5 separate regions of the Homo sapiens genome follow, and all the other regions are linked to region 3. The links are contacts of gene promoters, found by promoter capture Hi-C in human tissues and cell types (Jung and others, 2019). All regions are on one chromosome and are shown on one strand. Each heading gives the region's core, a stretch centred on a gene start or on the middle of the fragment in contact. The rest is flanking DNA. Distances are from core to core; before and after follow the strand shown.

What was found. The method cuts DNA at HindIII sites, captures the fragments that hold promoters and counts their contacts. A contact is called where the count stands out against the background at its distance.
Region 1: the fragment with the promoter of WDR18 here is called in contact with the fragment with the promoter of PTBP1 in region 3 in 3 of the 25 tissues and cell types used here (dorsolateral prefrontal cortex, lymphoblastoid cells and spleen).
Region 2: a contact is called between the fragment with the promoter of ABCA7 here and the fragment with the promoter of PTBP1 in region 3, in 1 of the 25 tissues and cell types used here (dorsolateral prefrontal cortex).
Region 4: a contact is called between the fragment with the promoter of HCN2 here and the fragment with the promoter of PTBP1 in region 3, in 2 of the 25 tissues and cell types used here (dorsolateral prefrontal cortex and lymphoblastoid cells).
Region 5: a fragment that was not itself captured here is called in contact with the fragment with the promoter of PTBP1 in region 3 in 1 of the 25 tissues and cell types used here (dorsolateral prefrontal cortex).

What each region holds. Positions count from the first base shown.
Region 1 is chr19:982,768-988,124 of GRCh38, forward strand. WDR18 (WD repeat domain 18) reads left to right here and starts at 1,578. Exons shown (of 10, transcript NM_024100.4): 1 at 1,578-1,796; 2 at 3,098-3,208. The coding sequence starts at 1,587. RefSeq lists silencers at 1-233, 1,398-1,487 and enhancers at 1,172-2,113, 1,538-1,687, 1,718-1,897. The HindIII fragment of the contact is 34,067 bases long and covers 1-5,357 here.
Region 2 is chr19:1,036,680-1,041,356 of GRCh38, forward strand. It overlaps ABCA7 (ATP binding cassette subfamily A member 7), which reads left to right and starts at 3,428. Exons shown (of 47, transcript NM_019112.4): 1 at 3,428-3,517; 2 at 4,546-4,677. CNN2 (calponin 2) reads left to right here. Exons shown (of 7, transcript NM_004368.4): 7 at 946-2,386. The coding sequence ends at 1,221. RefSeq lists enhancers at 1,434-1,993, 1,581-2,082, 2,083-2,582, 4,475-4,677 and a silencer at 4,424-4,563. The HindIII fragment of the contact is 21,554 bases long and covers 1-4,677 here.
Region 3 is chr19:793,964-798,942 of GRCh38, forward strand. It overlaps PTBP1 (polypyrimidine tract binding protein 1), which reads left to right and starts at 3,489. Exons shown (of 15, transcript NM_002819.5): 1 at 3,489-3,542. The coding sequence starts at 3,535. RefSeq lists enhancers at 2,608-3,243, 2,896-3,235, 3,442-4,327, 4,328-4,979 and silencers at 3,148-3,502, 3,266-3,615, 3,626-3,805, 3,876-4,185. The HindIII fragment of the contact is 37,831 bases long and covers 1-4,979 here.
Region 4 is chr19:588,631-593,737 of GRCh38, forward strand. HCN2 (hyperpolarization activated cyclic nucleotide gated potassium and sodium channel 2) reads left to right here and starts at 1,251. Exons shown (of 8, transcript NM_001194.4): 1 at 1,251-1,947. The coding sequence starts at 1,316. It also overlaps the pseudogene LOC100420586. RefSeq lists an enhancer at 1-20. The HindIII fragment of the contact is 14,322 bases long and covers 1-5,107 here.
Region 5 is chr19:623,141-628,063 of GRCh38, forward strand. POLRMT (RNA polymerase mitochondrial) reads right to left here. Exons shown (of 21, transcript NM_005035.4): 4 at 1,984-2,114; 5 at 1,579-1,765; 6 at 314-463. Among named protein-coding and RNA genes, the nearest start is that of POLRMT, 7.9 kb to the right of the region's middle. The HindIII fragment of the contact is 3,049 bases long and covers 120-3,168 here.

The DNA.
Region 1 (5,357 bases), core at 328-2,827, 190 kb after region 3:
GGTTCTCTGGGGGTCGCTGGCTCCCCGCTCAAACGGCCCCTCCTGCCGACCAGGCGGGTCCCCGGGGCCGCCCTCCCTCTGGCCTGGGCTCGGGGTCGGTGGCTCGCGCCTGCCACCTGGCGGCCAGCGGGGCTGCGGCGCCGCACGCTCTGGCACCAGCCTCCTGCCCCGGCCGTGCCCTCCGCCGGGAGCCGCGGACCAGGAGTCGCACCGCCTCCGGGGACCGCACCCCGCATGCAGCCTCCAGCCCCTGCCTCTTGCTGCTCGAGGGCACACGACCCAGGTCAGCTGCAACCCCCGGGCGGAAATCCCGACTTTTAAATGAATGCTCCCTTTTTATCCCTTTTTAAGGGGTTGGCAACTAATTGCACATTTTAAATCATACTGTTTTTAGGCCGGACGTTGTGGCTGAAGCCTGTAATCCCAGCGGTTTAAGAGGCCAAGGCCTAAGCCCAGGTGTTGGAGACCAGCCTGAGCAACACAGTGAGACCCCCCATCTCTACTAGATATATATTTAGTATAAATAAATAATAGATATATGTTTTTCTTTGAGACAGAGTCTCATTCGCCCAGGCTGGAGTGCCTGGGATCTCGGCTCACTGAGACCTCCGCCTCCCGGGTTCAAGCGATTCTCCTGCCTCAGCCTCCCACCACGCCCGGCTTTTTGTACTTTTTGTAAAGACGGGGTTTCGCCATGTTGGCCAGGGTAGTCTCGAACTCCTGATCTCAGGTAATCCACCCACCTCGGCCTCCCAAAGTGCTGGGATTACAGGCCTGAGCCAAAGCGCCCGGCCTTTTTTTTTTTTTGAATGCCGTTTTCAGACATGGTCCGTGACGGGCAGCCGTGACATGAAGTTAGACCCTGCTTGGCTCGGACAGAACTGGCGACTTGTTTGACCTACACCAAGCTATCCGACTAATAATTTAGATGTTGAGGCCCCTAAAGAGGGGTCAAGGGGGAGGCAGATGTCGACCAATAAGGAAACACTGGGCCGGGCGCGGTGGCTCACGCCTGTAATCCCAGCACTTTGGCAGGCCGAGCTGGGAGGATCACTTGAGCTCAGGAGTTCGAGGCCAGCCTGGGCAGGACAGTGAGACCCTGGCTCTACAAAACTAAATAAATAAGGAAGCAGTGAATTCCAATGTATTCATCGCCAACTAGCCATGTTGCTGGGTGTGCGCTCTCTCTTTTAGGCGCAATGTGTCATTTAGGCCTGTGACGTCGGAACTTTATTATTTGAACATTTAAAAATAAATGAATCCAAGAGCTTGAGTCACTTGGCCAAAAATGCCCAGGAGGAAAAGGCCAAGTCAGGTACCCCGGCTCTAGAGCTACTAACTGATCGCCGGAGACCCTGGGCCTTGGAAGAAGTCGCCTCCCCAGATCTCTAAGCAGGCCGCGCGACCCTCGAGTCTCAGGTAAGCGGGAAATCCCACTTCACAAGAAAGCCCCTCTCTCCGAGGCACGGGCGCATGCGCGGGTCGGCCACCCGCTGGGGCCGCGGGGCCGCCGCTCTGGCCCGCGTGGGGCAGTCGTCCGCGTCTCGCTCATGATGACGCACGTCCGGGGCGGTGGGGAAGGCAAGATGGCGGCGCCCATGGAGGTGGCCGTGTGTACGGACTCGGCGGCCCCGATGTGGAGCTGCATCGTGTGGGAACTTCACTCGGGCGCCAACCTGCTCACCTACCGCGGCGGCCAGGCGGGACCCCGCGGCCTGGCGCTGCTCAATGGCGAGTATCTGCTGGCGGCGCAGCTGGGCAAGAATTACATCAGCGCCTGGGAGCTCCAGCGGAAGGTGCGGCGGTGCGGTCTCGCTGCTGGGGTCATGGGGCGCCCGAGGCTGAAGTCGGGGGATGGGTTGGTGGGGGCCGCGTGCACCCTTAGTCGGAATTGGCGTGGGGAGGGGAGGTGGTCTCCGTTCGGGCGCTCTGCGCATGCGCGGGTCTGGGGGCTTTGGGGAGATACGTGCGACCTGTTAGGCCGCTCTGCGCACGCGCGGGGCTCAGGCCTGAGCTGCTATGGGGGCAGTGGGGGAAAATGGGAGACGCTCCGGGGGGTCCCTTGGGGCAATTGCGCATGCACGAGTTCTTGGAGCGCGAAATTTGATTAAAAGGGGCCTATGAGCTCTGTGGATGTTGTGGTTCTGGAGGAAAAGGGAGAAGGACCAAGGTCTGGGGGAGTCTCCCATGAAGGGGTGGCGCAGGAAACTCATGTTTATTCCTCCAATAAAGCAACAGATACTCACCGTCGCCCACAGTTTCCCCTCTACTCCCAAGCCCAAATGCAGCCAGTCCCTGAAGCTACTCGCTTCCCCCGTGTGCCCGCTGAGATCTCTTGGGACTGGCTCTGTGCTCCAGCATTGCCTGATGGAGTCTACACACAACTCATAAATTTCTCCCATTTTATTTTAGTTTTGAGACAGGGTCTCACTCTGTCGCTGAGGCTGGAGTGCAGTGGTGCGATCTCGGCTCACTGCAGCCTCTGCCTCTAGGGTTCAAGCGATTCTCGGGCCTCAGCCTCCTGAGTAGCTGCAACTACAGGCCCGCACCAACCACCACACCCGGCCCACATTTGTATTTTTTGTAGAGGCAGGGTTTCACCATGTTGGCCAGGCTGGTCTCGAACTCCTGACCTCAAGTGATCTGCCCACCTCAGCCTCCCAAAGTGCTGGGATTACAGCCGTGAGCCACCACGCCCGGCTGAGTTTTCCCATTTTAGAGAGGAGGAAGCTGAGGCTTGGGGTCTTAGGTTGGACATTATGGATAGAAGGATTGGGGCACAAGCCTACTGGGCTCTTGGGCCCCAGTGTCCTTCTGGATCCTCTTTGTTCTGTTCCTGTACTCCTCCCACCCAGGGCCCCTCTGACCCTCAGAGGAAGCACCAACCTCACATCTACCACCTCCAGCCTCGAAGCCTCTTGCAGGGGCGAACACTTCCTTGCTGGACCATGCATTTGCTCAAACCACCCTGCTCCCGACTCCTCTTCCTGGTTCTCTGACTTAGCCATTGCCCAGGCGTCCCCTCCCCTCGCCCTCCACTGCTGTAGTAGCTCCCGTGTCCTGCATGGGGCTCACGAGGCTGACTGTGCATCCTTAGGACCAGCTCCAGCAGAAGATCATGTGCCCCGGGCCTGTCACCTGTCTGACTGCATCACCCAATGGTCTCTACGTCCTGGCAGGAGTTGCAGAAAGCATCCACCTGTGGGAGGTAAGAGGAGCAAAGCGTGAGCGTTTCCCACAGGACATCTCAGCCCATCTGAGCTTTGCCTGCAGGGCACCAGGGAACAACCATGCGGCCTGGGGCCCTGGGATGGGTGACTGCTCAGGGGTTATAGCCTAAGCTTCACCCTGCTGCCTCCTTTCTCCAGGTCCCCTCGAGACTTGCGAATCCCAGACCAGCCCTAATCCTGCCTTGAGTGCTTGGATAGAGCCCGGTGCAGCCCAGTCCCCGGCACTCACACACCGCAGCATCTTCCAGGGCTAGCGGGCATCTCTTCCACGCAGGCGGCAGCGCCTGGCACTTGTGACTTGAAAGTTATAAAGGGCGGCCGGGCGCAGTGGCTCATGCCGGTAGTCAATGCAACCTCTGCCTCCCAGGTTCAAGCAATCCTCCTGTCTCAGTCTCCTGAGTAGCTGGGATTCCAGGCGCCCACCACCACACCTGGCTAATTTGTTTGTATTTAGTAGAGAAGGGCTTCACAATGTTGGTCAGGCTGGTCTCCAACTCCTGACCTCAGGTGATCCACCCGCCTCGGCCCCCCAGAGTAGTGGGATTACAGGCGTGAGCCACCGCGCCCGGCCAGTGCCTCCTTTTTCTTACCGCTGGACCAACCAGGTGACAGCAACTCCTAGACACACTCACAGCCCGGATCCTGCCATGCTCTCACTGCGAGACAGAGTGAACTGTTCAGGCTTTGCATTTAGGCCAGCTTCTCAGCTCTGCCCTGGTGAGGGGAAGCAGCCCTGGATGATGTGTGAGTGAGTGGGCACAGAGATGTGCCAGGGAGACTTCATTCACAAAGTCAGGCCTCTTGGAGTTTGGCCCATACCGTAGCTGTGGCGTTAGATCACCGGCTGTGTTGTCACAAATGGTCCATTATATTTCGGGGGAGACCTGCCCTCAACCCCACATAGAGCAGGGCAGACAGTACAAGATCTGGGGCCAGAAGACCCAAAGGTAACCATGTTTCTGCCCTTCCTGACCTTGTCCTTGCTTCCCTCAGTGGGCTGCTCAGAGAACTGAGAGGGCTGGGTGGGCATGAGCATTCTCGGAGAGATAAAAAAGCCACCAGGGGATGGGCATGGCGGCTCATGCCTGGAATCCCAGCACTTTGGGAGGCTGAGACGGGCAGATCACTTGAGGCCAGGAGTTCAAGACTAGCCTGGGTAACATGGTGAAAACCCATGTCTGCAAAAAATAGAAAAATTAGCTGGGCATGGTGGCATACACCTATAGTCCCAGCTTTTTGGGAGGCTGAGGCATGAGAATCACTTGAATCCGAGAGGCGGAAGTTGCAGTGAGATGAGATTGTACCACTGCACTCCAGCCTGGGTGACAGAGCAAGACCTTGTCTCCAAAGAAAAGGGGGGTCGGGACAGGCAGCACAGGAATGACAGGAGGCATCATTATCTCACCCTCAGGACACGTGTGTATGTATTTAATTTTTAAACTTATTTTTGAGATGGGGTCTCACTACATTGCCGTAGCTGCTCTTGAACTCCTGGGCTCAAGCGATCCTCCCAGGTAGCTGGGATTATAGGCATGTGCCACCATGCCTGGGATCCCAAGGCTTTTACATCTCACTCCATGATTTTGAAACTAGGATGCAGTTGCTGAGAGGGAAACTGAGGCAGGGAAGCAGTAGCTCACGAGTCACCCCTAACAGTAGACCTCCTAGCCCTGGTTGCTGTCAGTCTGGTGCAGAGGGGCATGTGGGTAGGAATTAAATGTGTCATCGCCCCATGGGGGATGTCTTAGGCGGGACCCCTTCCTGTTCTTGGCTCGGGACAGTGTGCTGGGTGGCACCCACTGCCAGACCCCTGCTCCCCTAGCCGCCTCCAGTTTTTTTTTTTTTTTTTTTTTTTCAGATGAAGTCTCGCTCTGTTGCCCGGGCTGGAGTGCAGTGGCTCAATCTCAGATCACTGCAACCTCAGGCTCCCAGGTTCAAGCGATTCTCCTGCCTCAGCCTCCCAAGTAGCTGGGAGGCGCCCGCCACCATGCCTGGCTAATTTTTGTATTTTTATTAGAGACGGAGTTTTGCCAGGTTGGCCAGGCTGGTTTCGAACTCCTGGTCTCAGGTGATCCGCCCTTCTCAGCCTCCCAAAGTGCTGGGATGACAGGCGTGAGCCACTGCAGC
Region 2 (4,677 bases), core at 2,178-4,677, 240 kb after region 3:
CTAGACCACCTCCGGCTTCCCTCCCCGCTCTCTGTCTCCGCCTTGGATTTCAGCCTCTGTCATTTCCACCTGGCTGTGGGTCTCTAGGGAAGTTACTACCTCACCCTGTGTCATTTTCCCTTAAGGACTGCCCAAAGGTCCACCCAATTCTTTTTTTTTAATCTTTATTTATTTTATTTATGTATTTATTTTGAGATAGGATCTCACTCTGTTGTCCAGGCTGGAGTGCAGTGGCACGATCTCGGCTCACTGCAACCTCTGCCTCCCGGGTTCAAGAGATTCTCCTTCCTGCCTCAGCCTCCCGAGTAGCTGGGACTACAGGTGCATGCTGCCACACCCGGCCAATTTTTGTATTTTTAGTAGACATGGGGTTTCACCATGTTGCCCAGGCTGGTCTCGAACTCCTGAGCTCAGGCAATCCACCCGCCTTGACCTCCCAAACTGCTAGGGTTACAGGTGTGAGCCACCGCACCCGGCCACACCCAGCTAATTTTTGTATTTTTAGTAGAGACGGGGTTTCACTGTGTTGGTCAGGCTAGTCTTGAACTCCTGACCTCAGGTGATCCTCCCACCTCAGCCTCCCGAGTAGCTGAGACTACAGGCGCCCGCCACCACGCCCGGCTAATTTTTGTATTTTTAGTAGATATGGGGTTTCACCGTGTTGGCCAGGCTGGTCTTGAACTTCTGACCTCAGGTGATCCTCCCACCTCAGCCTCCCGAGTAGCTGGGATTACAGGCATGTGCCACCACGCCCAGCTAATTTTGTATTTTTGGGAGAGACAGGGTTTCACCGTGTTGGCCAGGCTGGACTGGAACTCCTGACCTCAGGTGATCCTCCCACCTTGGCCTCCCAAAGTGCTGGGATTACAGGCGTGAGCCAGTGCACCCAGTGAAGGTCCCCTCTTCTCTCCACCATGACCTGCTCCACCCCTCCTTCCTCTCCAGGTGGGCATGACGGCTCCCGGGACCCGGCGGCACATCTATGATACCAAGCTGGGAACCGACAAGTGTGACAACTCCTCCATGTCCCTGCAGATGGGCTACACGCAGGGCGCCAACCAGAGCGGCCAGGTCTTCGGCCTGGGCCGGCAGATATATGACCCCAAGTACTGCCCGCAAGGCACAGTGGCCGATGGGGCTCCCTCGGGCACCGGCGACTGCCCGGACCCGGGGGAGGTCCCTGAATATCCCCCTTACTACCAGGAGGAGGCCGGCTACTGAGGCTCCCAGCACGCTCTCTCCCCACATCGTCTGCCCATCTGGGTTTTTGGGTTTTTCTGTGTTTTCATCTTTTTTTTTTTTTTCTTAACCCGTTCAGTGCTGCCAGTCAACCAAGGGTCTGTGAGTGTCAGCGTGGGATCAGGCAGCAGAGCTTTTTTCCCCTTTGCCTTGATCCTTCGCAAGGCTGAGCCACTGGGCTGTGGGGGAAGGGGTCAAGGCCATATCCCAATACGTGTAGGGCGAGGGTCCCTGCTGGCACATTCAGGCTGTGCTGGGAAGAAGAGACCTGGGCTTGGAAGGAACCGGTCCCCGACGGTTTCTGCTTGCCTCGCCTCTTCCCCCTTTTGTCAGCTGAGCAGTTTGTGGTTTCTATGCCCGCAAGTTTCAGGAAGTATTCACAAAAGAAAAATACATTTTTTCCCCCAGGGGTGGGGCAAGGACAGTGGAGAGAGTGCTAGGAAATGAGTCCCCTGGGAAAGGGGACCGGGCCGTGATGTTAAATATCTCCGGCTCCCAAGTGACTGGATTTGCCTAGGACCTTCAGACCAACAGACTTCAGACCCTCAGACCTGCCCCGGGGCCAGGTGGAGAAAGTGAGGGCCGTACAAGGAAGTGAAATTCTGAGTTGTTGGGGCTAAGCCTGACCCCCTCTCCATGCTCCCCGCCCCAACCCACTCTGGCCTCAGTAGATTTTTTTTTCAGTTGTGGTTGTTGCCCAGGCTGGAGTGCAGTGGCGCCATCTTGGCTCACTGCACCTCCACCTTCCGGGCTCAAGCGATTCTCCAGCCTCAGCCTCCTGAGTAGCTAGGACTGCAGGTGCTCCACCACGCCCGGCTAATTTTTGTATTTTTAGTAGAGATGGGGTTTCCCCATGTTGGCCAGGCTGGTCTCGAACTCCTGGCCTCAGGTGTGATCCGCCCGCCTCCGCCTCCCCAAGCGCTGAGATTACAGGTGTGAGCCACCGTGCCCAGCCCCTCAGTAGGTTTTAAGGAGCCCCCAGCCCTCCTCCCTTCTGGGCCCGACCAGCTTATACTGCTCCATCTTCCCCGGCCACATGCCCCGCCAAGTACTGCACAGGGACCCCCCACCCAGGGGACCTGCTCCGTGAGATAATGTGAAATACGACTGTGGACCAAACGCAATAAAACCTCTGTTTGTACGAAGAGAAGGTGGCCAAGAGAGTTGGCGTCGATGAGGGCGTGCTTTGCTTTGATGCTTTTGTGGGGAGAGAGGAGGTCTTGGGGGATGGGGGGATCAAGGGGAAAATGTCCACCTCACCATTGGGAGGAGGAGCAAAAGCTGAAGCCACAGGTGAGTCTGGGTGGAATGAATGATTTGAAGGGCCGGGACTTGGGGTAGAGGGAGAGGCTGGGCTTCCTGGCCATTTGGAGAAGAGGCAGTTCCCTCAAATGCCCCCCATGCGCTTTGGCTGCACTCTACCTTACAGCGCAAGTCTCGTGGCCTCAGCCTGGATGTCTCCCCGTTGGCGAACTCCTATTTATCCTCAAAGCCCCAACGGCAATGCCACCTCCTGCCGCGGGAGCCGTCCCCACGCCTCTCACTCTCCCCAGCGCCTTCAAAGCTGTGGACCCACACGCTCCCATTTCAGCTTCACCTCCAGCCTGAAGAGTTTATTTCAACTCTTCTTCCAGAGTGGGAAACGGGTTTTCCTCAAAATCAGGGTAGCCACTATAATCGGAGACTCTAGAATGTTGGCCCCCTCCCCCTCCTGCCATCCTCTGCAGAAGCCGAGGAGCGTTCGTGGAATGAATGAATGAACGAATGATCTAGTGGAACCCCTACTTTACAGACGGACGAGTGTAGTCCCAGAGTCTGGACTAAACTAGAGGGAGCCTGGCCAGCCCCGGGGACAGCGGGGACAGAGGGAACTCCTGCAATTCGGAGCTGCGGTATTGCAGCCGGTTATACAACGTGGGGAGGCAGCCTGGCTCCCCAAAGACAGCGCAGCCTCGTTCCCGGAGGGCGGCCTGCCTGGGACCTGCCGGGCACTCCGCCACCCTACGGTGATGCAGCAAGAGCCGCGCGGTCCCTTTAAGAAACCCGGCTAGGCGAGGCCCTTCTGTGATCCCGTCTCCTCCCTTGGCCCGCGCAGCTCCGACGGAGCAGGCCAGTGAGTGACGGGCAGGTCGCCCAATAGCAGCGTGCAGAGGCAGGGGCGTGCCCCGGCGCTGCTACCTGCGCGGGCAAGCTCAGCGCACTTGGCTTAAGGGGCGGCGCGCTCCCTGCCTGCTGCTGGGCGGAGGGAAGGCGGCAAGAGCTGCGGAGCCCCTGGAAGGTGAGAAGGACTCGGAGAGGGAAGAAGGCCCGAGACTCGAGAATGCGGGGTTGGGGCCGGGAGGGATGCAAGTTCCCTGGGAATTAGGGGGTCCAGCCTCTGACCTCCTTCCGGTGAATGTTGACGACGGCTGAATTGATCACTGATTCTCAAGGGGGGCATCGGACATCTGGGACCCTTAAGAGGGCCTTTGCCGATCACACACCTGCAGCCCCCTGCCCGTTAGAACTCCTGCACTCCCCCTTGCCCCGTCTTACAAATGGAGAAACTGAGCCCACTCCCCCAGATCCTAAGTCCCGCTTGATGTAAAGGAAAGAACCCTGGCGTAAGGGTCTGGGTCTGAGGTCCCAGTTCCGGCCTGGTCACCTTTAGCAACTTCCTGCCCCTCTGTCAGCGTCAGATTCTCCATCTGTGTCAGAGGTGGACCGGCCCAAGGAAAATAGATCAGGAATCGCTGACTCCAGGAGTCTCTATCCCAGCCCCTTCGCCTGACTCTTTCTCTGGCTCCCGCGGTCCCTCTGAGCGATTAATGCTACATAAGGTGTGGGCAGAGCTGGGGTCGTGCCTCCAGCTGGGCAACTGCCTGTCTCTCTGGGTGCCTGGGTTTGCTTTCTTGGGCCTCGGTTTCCACTTCTGTAGAGTGGGGTGATAGTCCAGCACTTCCCCTGGGCGTGTGAAATGTCCAGCACTGCCAATATTCGTTGCTGTTATCTTCGGAGAACAGTGAGGGGAAAGGAATCCTTGCCTGGGCTGGGCCAGGCAGGAGGCTGGGGGTCAGGACCTGGAAGAGGCTTCCAGGTGAGGCTTGGGGTGGAGCCTGGTGACGAAAGCGTTAAGCCCAAACTCGGTCCCTGGAGGATTAGAGGATGATCTTTAAGTCCCCAGCTGTCAGCCCTGCTCAGAGCGACAGTCCTGGCAGCCAATCAGATGCGAGGACGGCTGCGGGTTGCGCTCCCATTGGTTTACTCCACCCCTGGGGTAGCGGAGCCTCTTTATCGAGTGACTACTGTTTGCCTCGCTCTAATCAGAGCTTCCAGGAACCCTGCGCTGTGGGATAAAGGAATGAGGTTCAGAAAGGGGCAGGGAGTTGCCCGCAGCCGCACCGCACGTCTTCAGCCCGACCGTTGTCCTGACCTCTCTGTCCCGTCCCCTGCCCAGTC
Region 3 (4,979 bases), core at 2,239-4,738:
CTTCCCGCGCTGGCGTTCTGCATATGACAGCTGACCTGTAAATTGCTGGGCCCTCAGCCATGGTTACTGTCAGGCCAGCCCAGGAAGGACACTGGTTTCAGGTGACCTGGGTGAGGTGGAGGCGGTGGGGGGGGTTCCTGGGACCAGGCCGCCATTGCAAAAACAAACGGCCTGCTTGTACCTGCTATCGCCCTCTAAGCTTCAGGTGGTGGGTGGGGCTGAGGGGCTGAGAGGTGGCCCCAAAGAAAGACAACCACATCCTAAACCCTGGAACCCGTGAACAAGGCTTCATTTGGAACACCAGTCTTTGAAGGTACCATTAAGTGTCTTGAGATGAGATCATCCTGGAGTCTGCAGGTAGACCCTAAATTCCGCGACATACATTTTATTTTTTATTTTTACTTTTTTTTTTGAGATAGCGTGTCACTCTGTTGCCCAGGCTGGAGTACAGTGGCGTAATCTAGGCTCACTGCAACCTCCGCCTCCCGCGTTCAAGTGATTCTCCCGCCTCAGTCTCCCGAGTAGCTGGGATTACAGGAGCAAACCACCACGCCCGGCAAATTTTTGTATTTTTAGTGGAAACGGGCTTTCACCATGTTGGCCAGGATAGTCTCAGGCTCTTCACCTTGTGATCCGCCTGCCTCGGCCTTCCAAAGTGCTGGGATGACAGGTGTTTATTTTCGTTTTTGTTTTTTAGAGACAGAGTTTCACTCCTGTTGCCCAGGCTGGAGTGCAATGGCGCAATCTCGGCTCACTGCAACCTCCGCCTCCCGGGTTCAAGTGATTCTCTTGCCTCAGCCTCCCAAGGAGCTGGGATTATAGGGCATGCACCACCACGCCTGGCTAATTTTTGTATTTTTGGTGGAGAGGAGGTTTCTCCATGTTGGCCAGGCTGGTCTCGAACTCTGACCTCAGGTGATCCACTCACCTCGGCCTGCCAGAGTGCTGGGATTACAGGTGTGAGCCATTGCACCCGGCCAGACACTGTCTTAAAAAAATAAAAATAAAAAAAGGTACTGGACAGGTGGCTGGTCATGTGGGGCTTGCGGGGTAAGGGATGGCCTTGGGTTTATACTTTGAGCAAGACAGGAGGCCTGGCGGGGCCACGATCAGAAGTGGGTTTTAACACGATTCCGAAGGGTTAGACTGGTGCTTGGAACCTGGTGGTCTCTACTGCTGCCAGCTGCCACTCAGACCCCCGGCCGCCCCTGCCTGTCTGCTTTCAGGGCGGGGCCCATCCCAGGCACTCCGCGAACAGACAGAAGCGGCTGGTTCTGGTGGTGTGAGGATGGGGGTCTCCAGGGGAGCAAATCCACAGTAACACACTGGGCTTCTCCCAGATCCACCGGACATTCCTGATGAGTGACCCTGGCTGCAGATGGCTCTTGGTGAGTCTCCGTTGACCGGGTGGTTCGGGCCAAAGGACCTTGCCGTGCGATGCCTCCATGGAGCTCGGCGGCCACCCCTAATCCGGGCTGGAATCCTCTGGCACCAGACGCCCGGCGGGGCTCCAAGGCTCCTGGGCCCACGCCAGGCCCCGGCCTGAAACGCAGCACTGCTGGAATAAAACACGCCAGAGAAGCAGGGCGCTAGGCTCGCCTGGATTTGGGGAAACGAGAATTGTCATGTCTTCTCCCTCCGTAGGTTGGTGTTAATGAAAAACCCCCTTTTCAGCATGGACTAAATCCCGCTAATTCTATTTAGGGAGCAGTGTCTACTCCGGGCCGGGAACTGCTCCGGTTTCCAACCGCAGCCTCCCGTGAGGGTCCCAGTGTGGAGGGCCGGGGTCATCCCCTCACTCTGGGATGGCTCCCAACCCGCTGACCTGGCCTCCCCGTCAGGCACCCTCACAGCTCTGTCAGACTCTTCATGTGATCAGCGCTCCTGGGAACATTAGTTTAGGGTGTTTTCTGCTGCTGGGATGGTGGCCCGGGAGGGACCCTCCTGGTGACCCTGCTGGGCCTGGCCCTCAGTTTCCCCAGCCGTAGGCTGGCAGCCTCGAACTGTACGAGCTCCAGGCCACAGTTTCCCCAGCTGTAGGTCAGTGGGCCAGGGACTGTAGGGGGCTCGGGCCTCAGTTTCCCCAGCTGTAGGCGGGTGGCTTGGGCCTCAGTTTCCCCACCTGTAGGCGGGCGGCCTTGGATTGTATGGAGCCCGGGCCTCAGTTTCTCCAGCTGTAGGCGGATGGCCGTGGACTGTGTGTGGCCTGGGCCTCAGTTTCCCCCGCTGTAGGCAGATGGCCGTGGACTGTGTGTGGCTTTGGCCTCAGTTTCCCCAGCTGTAGGCGGATGGCCGTGGACTGTGTGTGGCCCGGACCTCAGCTTCCCCAGCTTTAGGCGGTTGGCCGCGGACTGTGCAAAGTCCAGGCCTCAGTTTCCCCAGCTGTAAGCGGGCGGCCGCCCACTGTACAAGGTCCAGGCCTCAGTTTCCCCAGCTGTAGGTGAGAGGCCGCGGACTGTACAAGGTCCAGGCCTCAGTTTCCCCAGCTGTAGGCGGGCGGCCAAGGACTGCAAGGTCCAGGCCTCAGTTTCCCCACCTGTAGGCGGGCGGCCGCGGACTGTACAAGGTCCAGGCCTCAGTTTCCCCAGCTGTAGGTGAGAGGCCGCGGACTGTACAAGGTCCAGGCCTCAGTTTCCCCAGCTGTAGGCGGGCGGCCGCCTACTGTATAAGGTCCAGGCCTCAGTTTCCCCAGCTGTAGGCGGGCGGCCGCGGACTGTACAAGGTCCAGGCCTCAGTTTTCCCAGCTGTAGGCAGCCGGCCGCGGACTGTGCGGGGCCCGGACCTCAGTTTCCCTATCTCCGCAGTCGGGATTCGCTGTTCCGGGGCGAACAAAGAACGGTCGGGGGTGACCCCGGATCATGGCGCGCCCGCAGTATCTGTGGCCACTGTGGAAACAGCCCTGGCGTGTCCGGGACGCGACGCGGCCTTTCCCTCCCCGCGCGATCACCCAGATGTGAGCGCTCAGTTTGAATCGGACTTTTTGGCCATGTGCCCACAACCAACATGGAGCCCTGAGGGTTTCCTGCCCGACTCCAAGATGGCGATGCGACTCCCTTTGCCCTCACGGCCCAGGCGGGCGGGTCCTGCCCACTTGCAAGATGGCGGCAGCCTGGGCAAAGCACGCTTCCCGCCGCCTGACTCGCCACGTACCCACTCTCAAGATGGCGTCTCCCGCAAAGCCACGCGCCAGCTGACTGGCTCAGACGCCGTCACGTGATCCCATTTTCTCCCCCTCCCCCGACTACACAAGCCGTTTCCGCCTTCGGCCTTGAGGAATAACCGCCTCCCCCAATAGGCGCCTGCGATTTCTCTGGGTCCCGCCCCCGGGCGGCCTTCTGGCCAGTGGGAGGTGCTGGCGGGGGCCCGCGGGGCTCTCCCCGCCCCCTGGCTGCAGCGGGAGCCAATGGGCAGCGCGCGCGGGGGACGTGTGCGGGCGTCTCCGCCATTTTGTGAGTCTATAACTCGGAGCCGTTGGGTCGGTTCCTGCTATTCCGGCGCCTCCACTCCGTCCCCCGCGGGTCTGCTCTGTGTGCCATGGACGGGTGAGTCGCACGTCGCCCCGCGCCCCACCGCCCTCCCCGCGCCGCAGCCCTGCCCCCGCCGCCGCGCCGGCCTCCCCGGGGCCGATCTCGCCCCCTCTCGGGCGGGAGGGGGCGGCGGGCTCTCCCCTTCCTCTCCGCGTGGCGGGCGCGGGTGCGGGGCGGGTCAGGGGCTTCCCGGGGGTCTGGCCGCGTCCCCATCCCCCGTCCGGCCCGCTTCCGGCCCCCGCGCGCCCCGTCCCTAGCGCACGCGGCCTCCCGCGCCCCTCCCCCTCCGCGCGCGTCCCCGCACTTCGCCTTTGCCCCGCCTCGGCGGCGCGCGGCCCTTCCCGCTTCCCGTCCGGCCCTCGCGCGCCCGGATGGCCCTTCCCGCCTCCCGTCCGCTCCCCTCGTGCGCCTGCGTAGCCCGTCGCGCGTCCCCGTTGGCCCCAGCGCGCGTGCGCGGCCGCCATCGGGGGCGCGCGCCTTTCCCGCCGCCCGGACTCTGCCCCCGGCGCAGCCCCGGAAGCGCAGGCGGGGCTGGGGCGGCCGCCGGGAGGGAAAGCTGGCGCCGGGGCCTCGCCGCGGGCCCGAGTCTCTGCGCTCCCCGCCCTACCCCTGCCCCCCGTGCGCCCCGGGCCGCGGCCAAGGGGTTTCGGTGATCTCGGGAGAGAAGCGGCCGCCCCGAGGGTCTGTCCTCCGCCCCGGGGCCGGAGGGGCCTCTCCAGGGACCCCCGCGGGCGCCGTCATGGGGAGGGGCCTTCCCGGCTCTCGGGCCGGGGCAGCCTTTCCGGGCGGCTTTGCTGGGCGGGCTTCCCTTGGGAGAGGTGGGAGCCCCCTCCAGAAAGGCCGTGTCCCGCCGAGCGCTTCCTGCGCGAGGCCCTCCCTGGGAATAGGAAGCGGGAGAGGCTGGAGATGTTTCGCATTCTTTCCGTTTTCCTGAGAAGTTTTTCTTGGGTTCAGTCACTTTTAAAAGTCTGTTAAACGTGGTCCGTGCAGTCTGTGGTGTCAGAAGAGGCGCAGCCCTAGAGTGGGTCTGGACCCCTTAGCATGCGTGCGGGCAGGTGGGTCCTGCAGACGGCGAGACGAGGGCTCCCCGCTCTCGGACCCAGCACCGCGGGCTCGGGGGCCGCGCACTCGCCTCCCGGAGTGAGGCAGGAGGCCCGGAGGCTGCCCTTCCGACGGACGCTCCGAGTCACTTAGGGCCTCGCCGGGAGTTGCAGTGGCCGGGAGAAGCCGTGGGGAGCTCACTGTTGGGTCAGGACCTGGCCGGGGCTGAAGGGAGGGCCTCGGACAGTCCGGCTTTCTATCCACCTTCCCCCCGGGGTGTCCCGAGGAGGGAGAGTCGGGTCGGGCGGGGCTCGGGTTGATCAGTAACTGAGGCTGTGTTCTGGTCGGTCTGTTAATTTTTATTGACGGTTTCCACGGCCGCCTCCTGCTCTCCTCGGTGGATCGGGCTCC
Region 4 (5,107 bases), core at 1-2,500, 210 kb before region 3:
CCATCCACTGTCAGCCGGGCACATGCTGGCCCTCCCTCAAGTACCACTGAGTGCCTCCTGGGTGTAGGAAGAGGGCCATCTCTGCCCCGGTGGCCTCGAGGTGCAGATGGGTGGGGGGCACCCGGCACACGGGACATCGTGGCTGAGAGGACGTCAGGCCAGGTGCCAGGAGGGTCCCAGGAGGGCCTCCTGCCTCCAGGTGGGGATGTTCAGCCTCCACTTCTTCGAGTGTGACTGTCTGTCTCCTCTCTCTCACTTGCCAGCTTCCTCACCTGCCCCCTCCCGGCTGTCTGGTGGGCTGGGTGGCTAGGGACAGAGGCCTCATGTCACCTGGCACCAAGCAGCACCCACGCCCAGCCGGCTTCGGCCCAGAAGCAGAGCCTTGGGAAGCACCTGTCTCAGAGCTGGGGACTGGAGGCACTGGGGGCACAGCTGCACCCGGAGTCCGAGGGGTCGGGGAAAGGAGGCAACCCCGGGGCAGGGGGCTCTGGTACCCGTGCGAAGGCGCTAGTGGGCTTTGGGTCTCCCTGTGACCCCAATCTAAAGCCCACCAGACCTAGAGGAGACCCCCGCCGCACGGCTCCCCAGGGCACTGTTTGAGGGGTGGGTGGGAACCCCACACCCTCGGGTGGCTTTTCCAGTTTTCCTTGTCTGGCTGGGCTTGGCCTCAGTTTCCTCAAATGCAGACCAGGGAGAGGAGTGCCTGAGTCTCCCAGAACGGCGCCCAAGCCGGCCTGCCCCTCCCCACGCACTCAAGGGTCTCTGTCCAGGGCCCACAGGCGACCCAGCAAGGGCTCCTGTGACCTTTAGAAACACCCTTTCGTCGTGGAAGTCTTCAAACCTCACAGAAAGCAAGGAGGCGCTGGCCGTGGCGGCCTCTCCCGTCTCCCAGGCCCGCGTCCACCCTCCCCGCGCCGGTGCCCTCCGGACAGAGGTGGAAGCCGCGGCGCAGGAGAGGCGGCTCCGGCCGGGCAGCGGGGCCCGGTGACCTTGGGCGCGTCCTTACACGTCGCGGGCCTCAGTTTCCCCTCCTGGGGAGAGGCCCGCGCGGGGCTCCGAGGCCTCGGGCCGCGTGACCTTGGGGCGCCCCCGACCCCGCGGCCCGAGTTTCCCGGCGCCGAGCGGAGGCGGCGCGCGGGGAGGGGGCGCAGCCGAGGCGGGTCTCCCGCCCCCGCCCCTCCCCCGCCCCTCCCCCGCCGCGAGGCTCCGCCCCCCGCGGCTCCGCCCCGCCCCGCCCCCGCCTCCCCCCTCCCTCGGGCTCCGGCCGGCGGCGGCGGCGGCGGCTCCGCTCCGCACTGCCCGGCGCCGCCTCGCCATGGACGCGCGCGGGGGCGGCGGGCGGCCCGGGGAGAGCCCGGGCGCGACCCCCGCGCCGGGGCCGCCGCCGCCGCCGCCGCCCGCGCCCCCCCAACAGCAGCCGCCGCCGCCGCCGCCGCCCGCGCCCCCCCCGGGCCCCGGGCCCGCGCCCCCCCAGCACCCGCCCCGGGCCGAGGCGTTGCCCCCGGAGGCGGCGGATGAGGGCGGCCCGCGGGGCCGGCTCCGCAGCCGCGACAGCTCGTGCGGCCGCCCCGGCACCCCGGGCGCGGCGAGCACGGCCAAGGGCAGCCCGAACGGCGAGTGCGGGCGCGGCGAGCCGCAGTGCAGCCCCGCGGGGCCCGAGGGCCCGGCGCGGGGGCCCAAGGTGTCGTTCTCGTGCCGCGGGGCGGCCTCGGGGCCCGCGCCGGGGCCGGGGCCGGCGGAGGAGGCGGGCAGCGAGGAGGCGGGCCCGGCGGGGGAGCCGCGCGGCAGCCAGGCCAGCTTCATGCAGCGCCAGTTCGGCGCGCTCCTGCAGCCGGGCGTCAACAAGTTCTCGCTGCGGATGTTCGGCAGCCAGAAGGCCGTGGAGCGCGAGCAGGAGCGCGTCAAGTCGGCGGGGGCCTGGATCATCCACCCGTACAGCGACTTCAGGTACCGCCTCCGGGAGGGCCGGTCGGCGCGAGGGGGCCCGGGGAGCCGGGCGCGCGGGGAGCCGTCCTTGGAGCGCCTGGGGAGGGCGGGGCGGCGCGCCGGGCCGGTGACCTCGGGGCTCCTCGGTGACCTCGGGCGTGTCCGGGACCCGCCCCGGAGTGACCCCGGCGCGCGAGGCTCCGCCTCTGGGGGGGCTCCCCGGGTGACCGCGGAGCGCCCCCCTCCCACGCACCCCGACATCCTCCGCCCTGCGGCGCGGCGGGTGGGGTGGGCCGCAGGGCCAGGGTCTGAGCGCAGAGGGGCAGAGAGGACGAATAGAGGGGAACGTGGGCCCCAGAGAGGCGGCGGAGCGGGAGGGAGGAGGAACGAAGGGCGCCCGGGAAGGACGCGCCCCAGGGAGGCCGGGGGAGAGGGGGTTAAGCGGCTCCCACGGCGTCCACCCGCGCCCCGCCTGCGAGGAGGCGCGCCCGGGGCCGCGGGCCTGGAAAGCGTGCGGGTCCCCAGGCTGTGTCCCCGGGAGCCGCTCCACCCGAGCCGCGGGCGGTGCGCGCATGCGGCGGTGGGTGTGTAGACGCCGCTGTGGATCCAGCCGGCTAATGCGTGGAAGGCTCGGAGCAGGGCCGGCGCGGGGCCACCGCCACTGATGTTTGCGGTCGTGGTTCCTGGGCTGTGCGTGCTGTGGCCGGAGAGCGAGACCGGCGCGTGTCCCCGTGGGCTGTGTGTGAACAGGGGCCCGTGACCGCGGCGGGGTTCCCGGGGCGCGAGCCTGTGGCCGGAGAGGTGTGTCTCCAGGAGTGTGTTTGCGTGGTGGTCGCGGGCGTGTGCGCCTCCGGTGGGTTTATTTTGGTGGGACGTGTGGTTTGTGTGTGTTGGGACCAGGTGGCGGGCGTGCGCGTGTACGCCCGGGGCCGGTGTGCACCGGTGGGCAGTAGTGTGAGCCGCAGGCAGGTCTCACACACGCGACCATGGAGGGATGCGTGTGTGTTTGTGTATCCACGAGTGGGGTGTGAGGTGGGGTGTGGAGGGTGCAGGTGGAGGGTGTAGGTGGGGCCCGCCGGGCTAGCGAGGCCGGGCGCGCGGGACGGGCGCGGTTTCAGCACCACGGACAGCGCGCCGGACCTGGGAAGCCTGCGGTTTTCCCGCCTGTCTCTCCTCCTCCAGGCCTGGGCGCCCCAGGACAGCCCCCACGGACCCTGGACCCCCGGAACTGGGCAGGGAGGCTGTGGGGTTCTCTCTTCCCCTGGATTCTCTGCACCCCTAGTGCTTGACTGGAGAAACTGAGGCCTGGGGCACATGCGTCCTGGACAGAGCCTGGAGGAAGGCCCTGGAATCCTCCTCCCACCCCAGGCCTTCCTGAGAGGTGAATACAGCTTTGACCAGAAGCCTGGATTTCGAGACAGGCCAGGGGTGGGAGGAGCCCCGAAATCCCCAGAGGGGCTGTGTCCGGCCCCTCCCACCCTGCCTCTGTGCCCCACCGGGAGAGCTTGGTCAGCATCTGGGCTCTGGCCTGCGAAATGTGGACAGTGAGCGGGAAGGACTGGACTTCCAGGGCTGCTGGTCGGCCTGGCCCCACTTCCAGTCGGGCAGTGGCACCCCCTGACCGGAGAGGGACGCGGTGGAGAGGGAGCTGTAGAACGTGCCCACTCCCCTCCGTCCCCTCCAGCATGACCTTCGACAGAGATGGGTGCACCGCAGCGTGGGGGCTGGCAGGTGGAGGCCCACACCAGCCACTCCCTCCCCTGGGCAGCTCCAGCGACCCCCTGGCTGCAGAGGGGCGGTCGGTGGCCTGGGGGGCAGGTGGGCAGATGGCTGATCCCGGGGCTTGGGGGGAAGGCCGGTGGTAGGAGTGAAGCCCTCTCATCCTTCCACCCTCCTTGGGCGTGGTCGCCTGGAGGCCTGGGCAGGCTGTGGCCCCGCTCTGTGCTCTGAGGCATAGAGGGCTCAGAGGCCCCTGTGTGGACCAAGTGCAGCCCCACCCCGGCAGATGAGTGTTGAAGTGGAACTGAGCAGGCAGGGAATGGGGTTAGCGGGGCCTGTCTTCGGGACTAGGGGAGTCACGGCAGTCAGATTTTAAAAAAGGATTTCGATGTTGCCAAGCTGGGTGCACGGGGCCCCTAGGACCCTCCCCAGGCTTGGGACCTGTGCCAGTGTGGAATCAGTGTGGAAAAAGACCCCCAAGAATATCTCAAAAGCTCCCTAAGCAGGCGGCCGGACCCTGCTGTGGAGGGTGTTTTGGGGCAGCCCACAGCAAGCGAAGGGGCCTCTACGTTTGCAGCTGACTCAGGAGCCTGGCCCCAACTGGCTTCGGGCCCAAGGCCTCCTGTGCCTGGCTGGGTGTCTTGGGTCCTCGCTGGGCCCCTCTGCCTCAGTTTCCCCAATTGCACGGTGGGGATGGTATGAGGGAGAAGGATGGGGTCTTTCACAGCCTTGCCAGTGTCTCAGCCTCACGTCTCACACTCTCTTCACCTCCCCTTCCTGCTGAGAGAGTGCTGTGCTCCTTGCCCAGCCTGTGCCCCCCAGGCACGCCCTCACCCCGGTTCTTCCTCGCTGCCCAGCTGTCTCCGCCACGCCCAAGTCCACCCTGCTCCCGTGCTCGGAAGTGGCCTCTTTCACGCCCCACGTCCCAGTCCCAGTATACAGCAGGTGCCACATATTTGCTGAATTTTCTGAGGGGCAGAGCATGGGTCCTGGGCTGACGTGGGTCCAGATTTCGGCTCTCAGGCCTGGGCGGCTGGCCCCTTTGGAAGTGCAGTTGGTGCCAGGGTGCAGCGGCTCACGCCTGAGATCCCAGCACTTTGGGAGGCTGAGGCGGGCGGATCACCTGAGGTCAGGAGTTCGAGAGCAGCCTGGCCAACATGGTGAGATGATCCCGTCTCTACTAAAAATGCAAAAATTAGCTGGGCATCGTGACGAGCGCCTGTAATCCCAGCTACTCGGGAGGCTGAGGCAGGAGAATCACTTGAATCCAGGAGGCAGAGGTTGCAGTGAGCCGAGATCGCGCTGCTGCACTCCAGCCTGGCTGACAGAGTGGGACTTGGTCTCAAAAAAAAAGAAAAGGAAGAAGAAGTGCAGTTGGTCTATTGCTGAAGTCTCTGGGGCTGTGGGTGGCTCTACACCCCGGCCTGACGTCTGAAAGTCCCCAGAGGCATGCTGGGCGCTT
Region 5 (4,923 bases), core at 394-2,893, 170 kb before region 3:
CGGCTTCAGCGTGCCTGACGCAGCCAAGAGCAAAAGCCCAGCTGCAGTGTGCGCAGAAGCACAGGCCAAGACCCAACCTCGGGACCCCACAAGTTTTCCCTGAGCGGCAGCCAGGCTGAGTTCCTAGGCCCTGCATGACCAGACCAGGGCATGAGCAATTCAACCGCATACACGGAGCTCAGCCCCTGCGGCGGACACGCGACCCCGGCTCAGCCCCTGCGGCGGACACGGGACCCCGGCTCAGCCCGTGCGGTGGACACGCGACCCCGGCTCAGCCCCTGCGGCGGACACGGGACCCCGGCTCAGCCCCTACCGCGTGCTTGACCTCCTTGCTTGGCAACGTGGGCTTCTCCACGGACACCACGCACACCCTGCTGGCCAGCTCCATGTGGAGCTGCTTCTCAAAGAGGCACTGCAGGGTCTTCAAGGGCAGGTGCAGCTTCGGGTAGGACACACGCCCATCCTGCAGGGATGGGGGTAGTGAGGTTGGGGGCTTGCCAGAGGGCGACCTGCCCTCCCAGGACCCCGAGACAGCATGGGTGCACGCGTTTCTGCGTCTCCTGCAAGTTGCTGGTGGCTATCGCTGACGCGGGGAAAGGCGGGCTGCGGGTAAAGTCAGTGCCAGCAGTGCAAACCAAAGGCCTTGACCCTCCTGGCCTCGACCCCTCTAGAAGGGACACTGGGCACCGTGCAGGGGGTGGCAGGGGCGGTGATGCTGGGAGCTGGCAGAGCCTGGGGAGACCGTTCACTGCACCCCCAGATGTTGGCTGTTTTCTCCTCAAACTCAGAACTGTATGAATGTGACCCATCCAGAAATAGATGAATTAAAAATAACAACTAAAGCCTAGCGCTTTGAGAATCAAAGACGCACGTCCACATAAAAGCTTGTACACAAACGTTCACAGCTGCATGACTCGCAGTCGATAAGTAGAAACAGCCCAACGTCCCATAAACGGACGAACAGACGGGCACGGCGCGGCCATCCACGCACCGGAGCATGACTCAGCCCTGACCCAGGTCGCCTCCCGGAGGCACCATGAGGACGTCACGCTCAGTGGGAGATGCCAAACACAAAAGGTCTCGCAGTGTGTGGTCCCATTTCTATGGAATGTCCAGAGCAGACTCATCCACAGATGGGGAGGGGATGGGGAGTGACGGGGATGGGGACGAGGCTTCCTTTTAGGGTGATGGAACATTCTAGAATTAGACAACCGTGACTACACTAAAATCGCTGAATTACACCTTTAAGAGGGTTTTATGGCAGGTGAATTACACCTCAGTAACAGACGAGCCCACTGCGTGCACCTGGCAGCCCCACTCAAACGCACTGCTCTCCTGTCACCCCACCCTCTCTCTGCGGCCCCCGACCACCTCGTCCCCCTGAGCCCACACCCTCAGGGCCAAGACCCTCCCAGCTCTGGGTCCTCCCATCTTCTCAGAGGAGGAAGGGAGGAATTCAGGGCCCAGCCCAGGTGAGCCCTGGGCACCGGGGAGGCCCATTGGTCTGAGCTGAGGCTCCAGGAACCCCCAAAGGGCAGCTATAAGGACTGAAGTCTGCCGGGGCCCACGTGGGCTCACCTTGGCATACACGTCCCTGAGCAGCTTGGAGGTGTTGACCGGGGGCGGCAGCTGCGGCGGGAGGCTGAAGGTGGGCTTCACCTTGTGCACGGCCTTCAGAACAGTGGCCCGATCCTCCTCAGACAGCAGAACGGCGGTGAAGAGTGCCTGCAGCTTCAGCCCCTCCTGGCTCATCTGTTCCAGACACCTGTGGTGCAGGCGGCCTGCTCGAGGGACGGGCCAGCCCCACGCTGGGCTTCCACAGACCCCAGGGGAACCTCGTGACCACCTCCTGCTAGCCTGCAGGTCTCGGTGTGGCTGTCAGGCCCTCTGGGGGTCCCCAGCCCCCAGCCCAGGCACCGTCCCAGATCTTAAAACCCTGGGAGGGACATGGTGGGGGGTGGGGGCCCTCCCGACACCACCTACCTTTCGATGGTCCCGGCGTCCTGGTCCTGCCTCCCCATGCACTGGAGGGCAGCCGCATAGGACAGCAGGTCCGGAGTCAAGCCGGCATCCTTCACCATGAATAACACATATACCAGCTCCTTGAAGGCACCCTGGGAGACCAAGCCAGGGTGAGGGTCTGGGGGGATGGCCCAACCTCCACATCCTCCCTGCTCCCTGGAGACCCCTTCTCTGTAGCCACCAGCTCAGCAGGGGACAGGGTCACCAGGCAGGAGTGGCCAGCTGGGCAGACCGATGCATCCCCCTGAGGTTCTGACACACAAGCTCCACCTGCAGAGGCAGCCGCATGGCCCGCCAGGTGGGACTGTGGGAGGTTCACGTTCCTCTGGGAGGCAGCTTGTTAAACCTCCAGATTTGTCAATTGTGTGGATCTTTTCAAAGGACTGACTTGGCTTGACTGTTCTCTGCTGTTTCTGCCTTCCATTTCATCGATTTGTTTTAATCTTTGTAACTTCCTCTCATCTACTTGCTTTAGGTTTAGTGACAGCTTCTTCTTCTAGTTTCCTAAGGTGAAAGGTGACGTATTTGGTCTGAGATGTTTCACTTTTTTTCCCCCCAAGATGGAGTCTTGCTCTGTTGCCCAGGCTGGAGTGCAGTGGCACAATCTCAGCTGGGCCGGGTTCTCTGCCTCCCAGGTTCCAGCACTTCTCCTGCCTCAGCCTCCTGAGTAGCTGGGATTACAGGCACACGCCACCACACCAGCTAATTTTTTGTATTCTTAGCAGATACGGGGTTTCACCATGCTGGCCAGGCTGGTCTCGAACTCCTGACATCGTGATCCGCCAGCCTCAGCCTCCCAAAGTGCTGGGATGACAGGTGTGCACCACCGCGCCCGGCCATCACCTTTCCGAATATAGGCATTTTGTGACTATAAATTACCCTGCGAGCACTGTGTCAGCTGCATCCCAGGACTTCTGACAGGTGGTGTTTTCATTTTCATTATCTCCAAGTGTTTTCGAACTTCATAGTTTACTTCTTCTTTGGAAATTTTATTTAATTATTTTTTTAGATAGAGTCTCGCTCTGTCGCCCAGGCTGGAGTGCAGTGGCGCAATCTCAGCTCACTGTCAACCTCCGCCTCCCGGGTTCAACCGATTCTCCTGCCTCAGCCTCCTGAGTAGCTGGGACTACAGGCACATGCCACCACACCCAGCTAATTATTTTGTATTTTTAGTAGAGATGGGGTTTCGCCCTGTTGGCCAGGCTGGTCTCCAACTCCTGACCTCAGGGGATCCACCCGCCTCGGCCTCCCAAAGTGCTGGGATTACAGGTGTGAGCCACCACGCCCAGCCATGTATAGCTTAAATATCCCCTGCAATTTTTTTTTTTTTCATTTAATTTTTGGCCAGGCACAGTGGCTCATGCCTGTAACCCCAGCACTTTGGGAGGCCAAGACAGGAGGATCACAAGGTCAGGAGTTTAAGACCAGCCTGGCCAACATAGTGAAACCCCATCTCCACTAAAAATACAAAAAAAAAAAAAAAAAATTAGCTGGGCGTGGTGGCTCATGCCTGTGCTCCCTCCACTAAAAATACAAAAAAAAAAAAAAATTAGCTGGGCGTGGTGGCACATGCCTGTAATCTCAGCTACTGGGAGCCTGGGGCAGGAGAATCACTTGAACGCAGAAAGCGGAAATTGCGGTAAGCCGGGATCTCACCACTGCACTCCAGCCTGGGAGACAGAAACTTTGCTGTCGACAGACTTGGAGACTCTGTCTTAAAATATACACACACACACATATATATATATATATAAAATAACATATATATATAATTTTTTTCTTGTATTCATTTTTCCTGACATCCCTGTTCTGAGCAATTTCTCCTTTGACCCAGTGGCTGCTTAAGAGTGGCCTGTAACTGTAACAGACTATTCCAAAGGGAAAAAAATTCCCTTACATCCTCCCACCCCATAGTCCTGCAGCTGAAGACATGCTGTGACATGAGGTGGCCACACACCAGAGACCAGAGACATGAGTTTTGGGGCATTTTTTTTTTTTTTTTTTTTTGAGACGGAGTCTCGCTCTGTCGCCCAGGCTGGAGTGCAGTGGCTCGATCTCGGCTCACTGCAAGCTCTGCCTCCCAGGTTCACTCCATCCTCCTGCCTCAGCCTCCCAAGTAGCTGGGACTGCAGGCGCCCGCCACCACACCCGGCTAATTTTTTGTATATTTTTAGTAGAGACGGGGTTTCACTGTGTTAGCCAGGATGGTCTCATCTCCTGACCTCGTGATCCGCCCGCCTCAGCCTCCCAAAGTGCTGGGATTACAGGCGTGAGCCACTGTGCCCGGCCGGTTTTGGGGCAGTTTCTAAACAACCTCTGTATGGTAGACCTCACTGGCCACACATAGTCCTTAAATTGAAATATTCAGTTCTTCCCTTTCACCAGCTTCAAGTGTTCAGTAGCACACACAGCTGTTGGCAGATGCGGAAAATTCCCAACATCATAGAAAGTTCTACTGGATGGTGCTGGTTAGAATACGTGGCCGGGCGCGGTCGCTCACGCCTGTAATCCCAGCACTTAGGGAGGCTGAGGCGGGCGGATTACCTGAGGTCAGGAGTTTGAGACCAGCCCGGCCAACATGGCAAAAGCCCGTCTCTACTAAAAATACAAAAATTGGCCGGGCGTGGTGGTGAGTCCCTGTAATCCCAGCCACTCAGGAGGCTGCGGCAGGGAGAATTATTGAACCCAGGAGGCGGAGGCTGTAGTGAGCCGAGATCATGGCACTGCACCCTAGCCTGGGCAACAGACAGAGAGTCTATCTCAAAAAAAAAAAAAAAAAAAAGATAGAAGCAATGCCTTAGCCTGGCTAACATGCTGAAACCCCACCTCTACTAAAAATAAAAATTAAAACAATTATCCGGGGGTGGTGGCACACGCCTGTAATCCCAGCTGCTCGGGAGG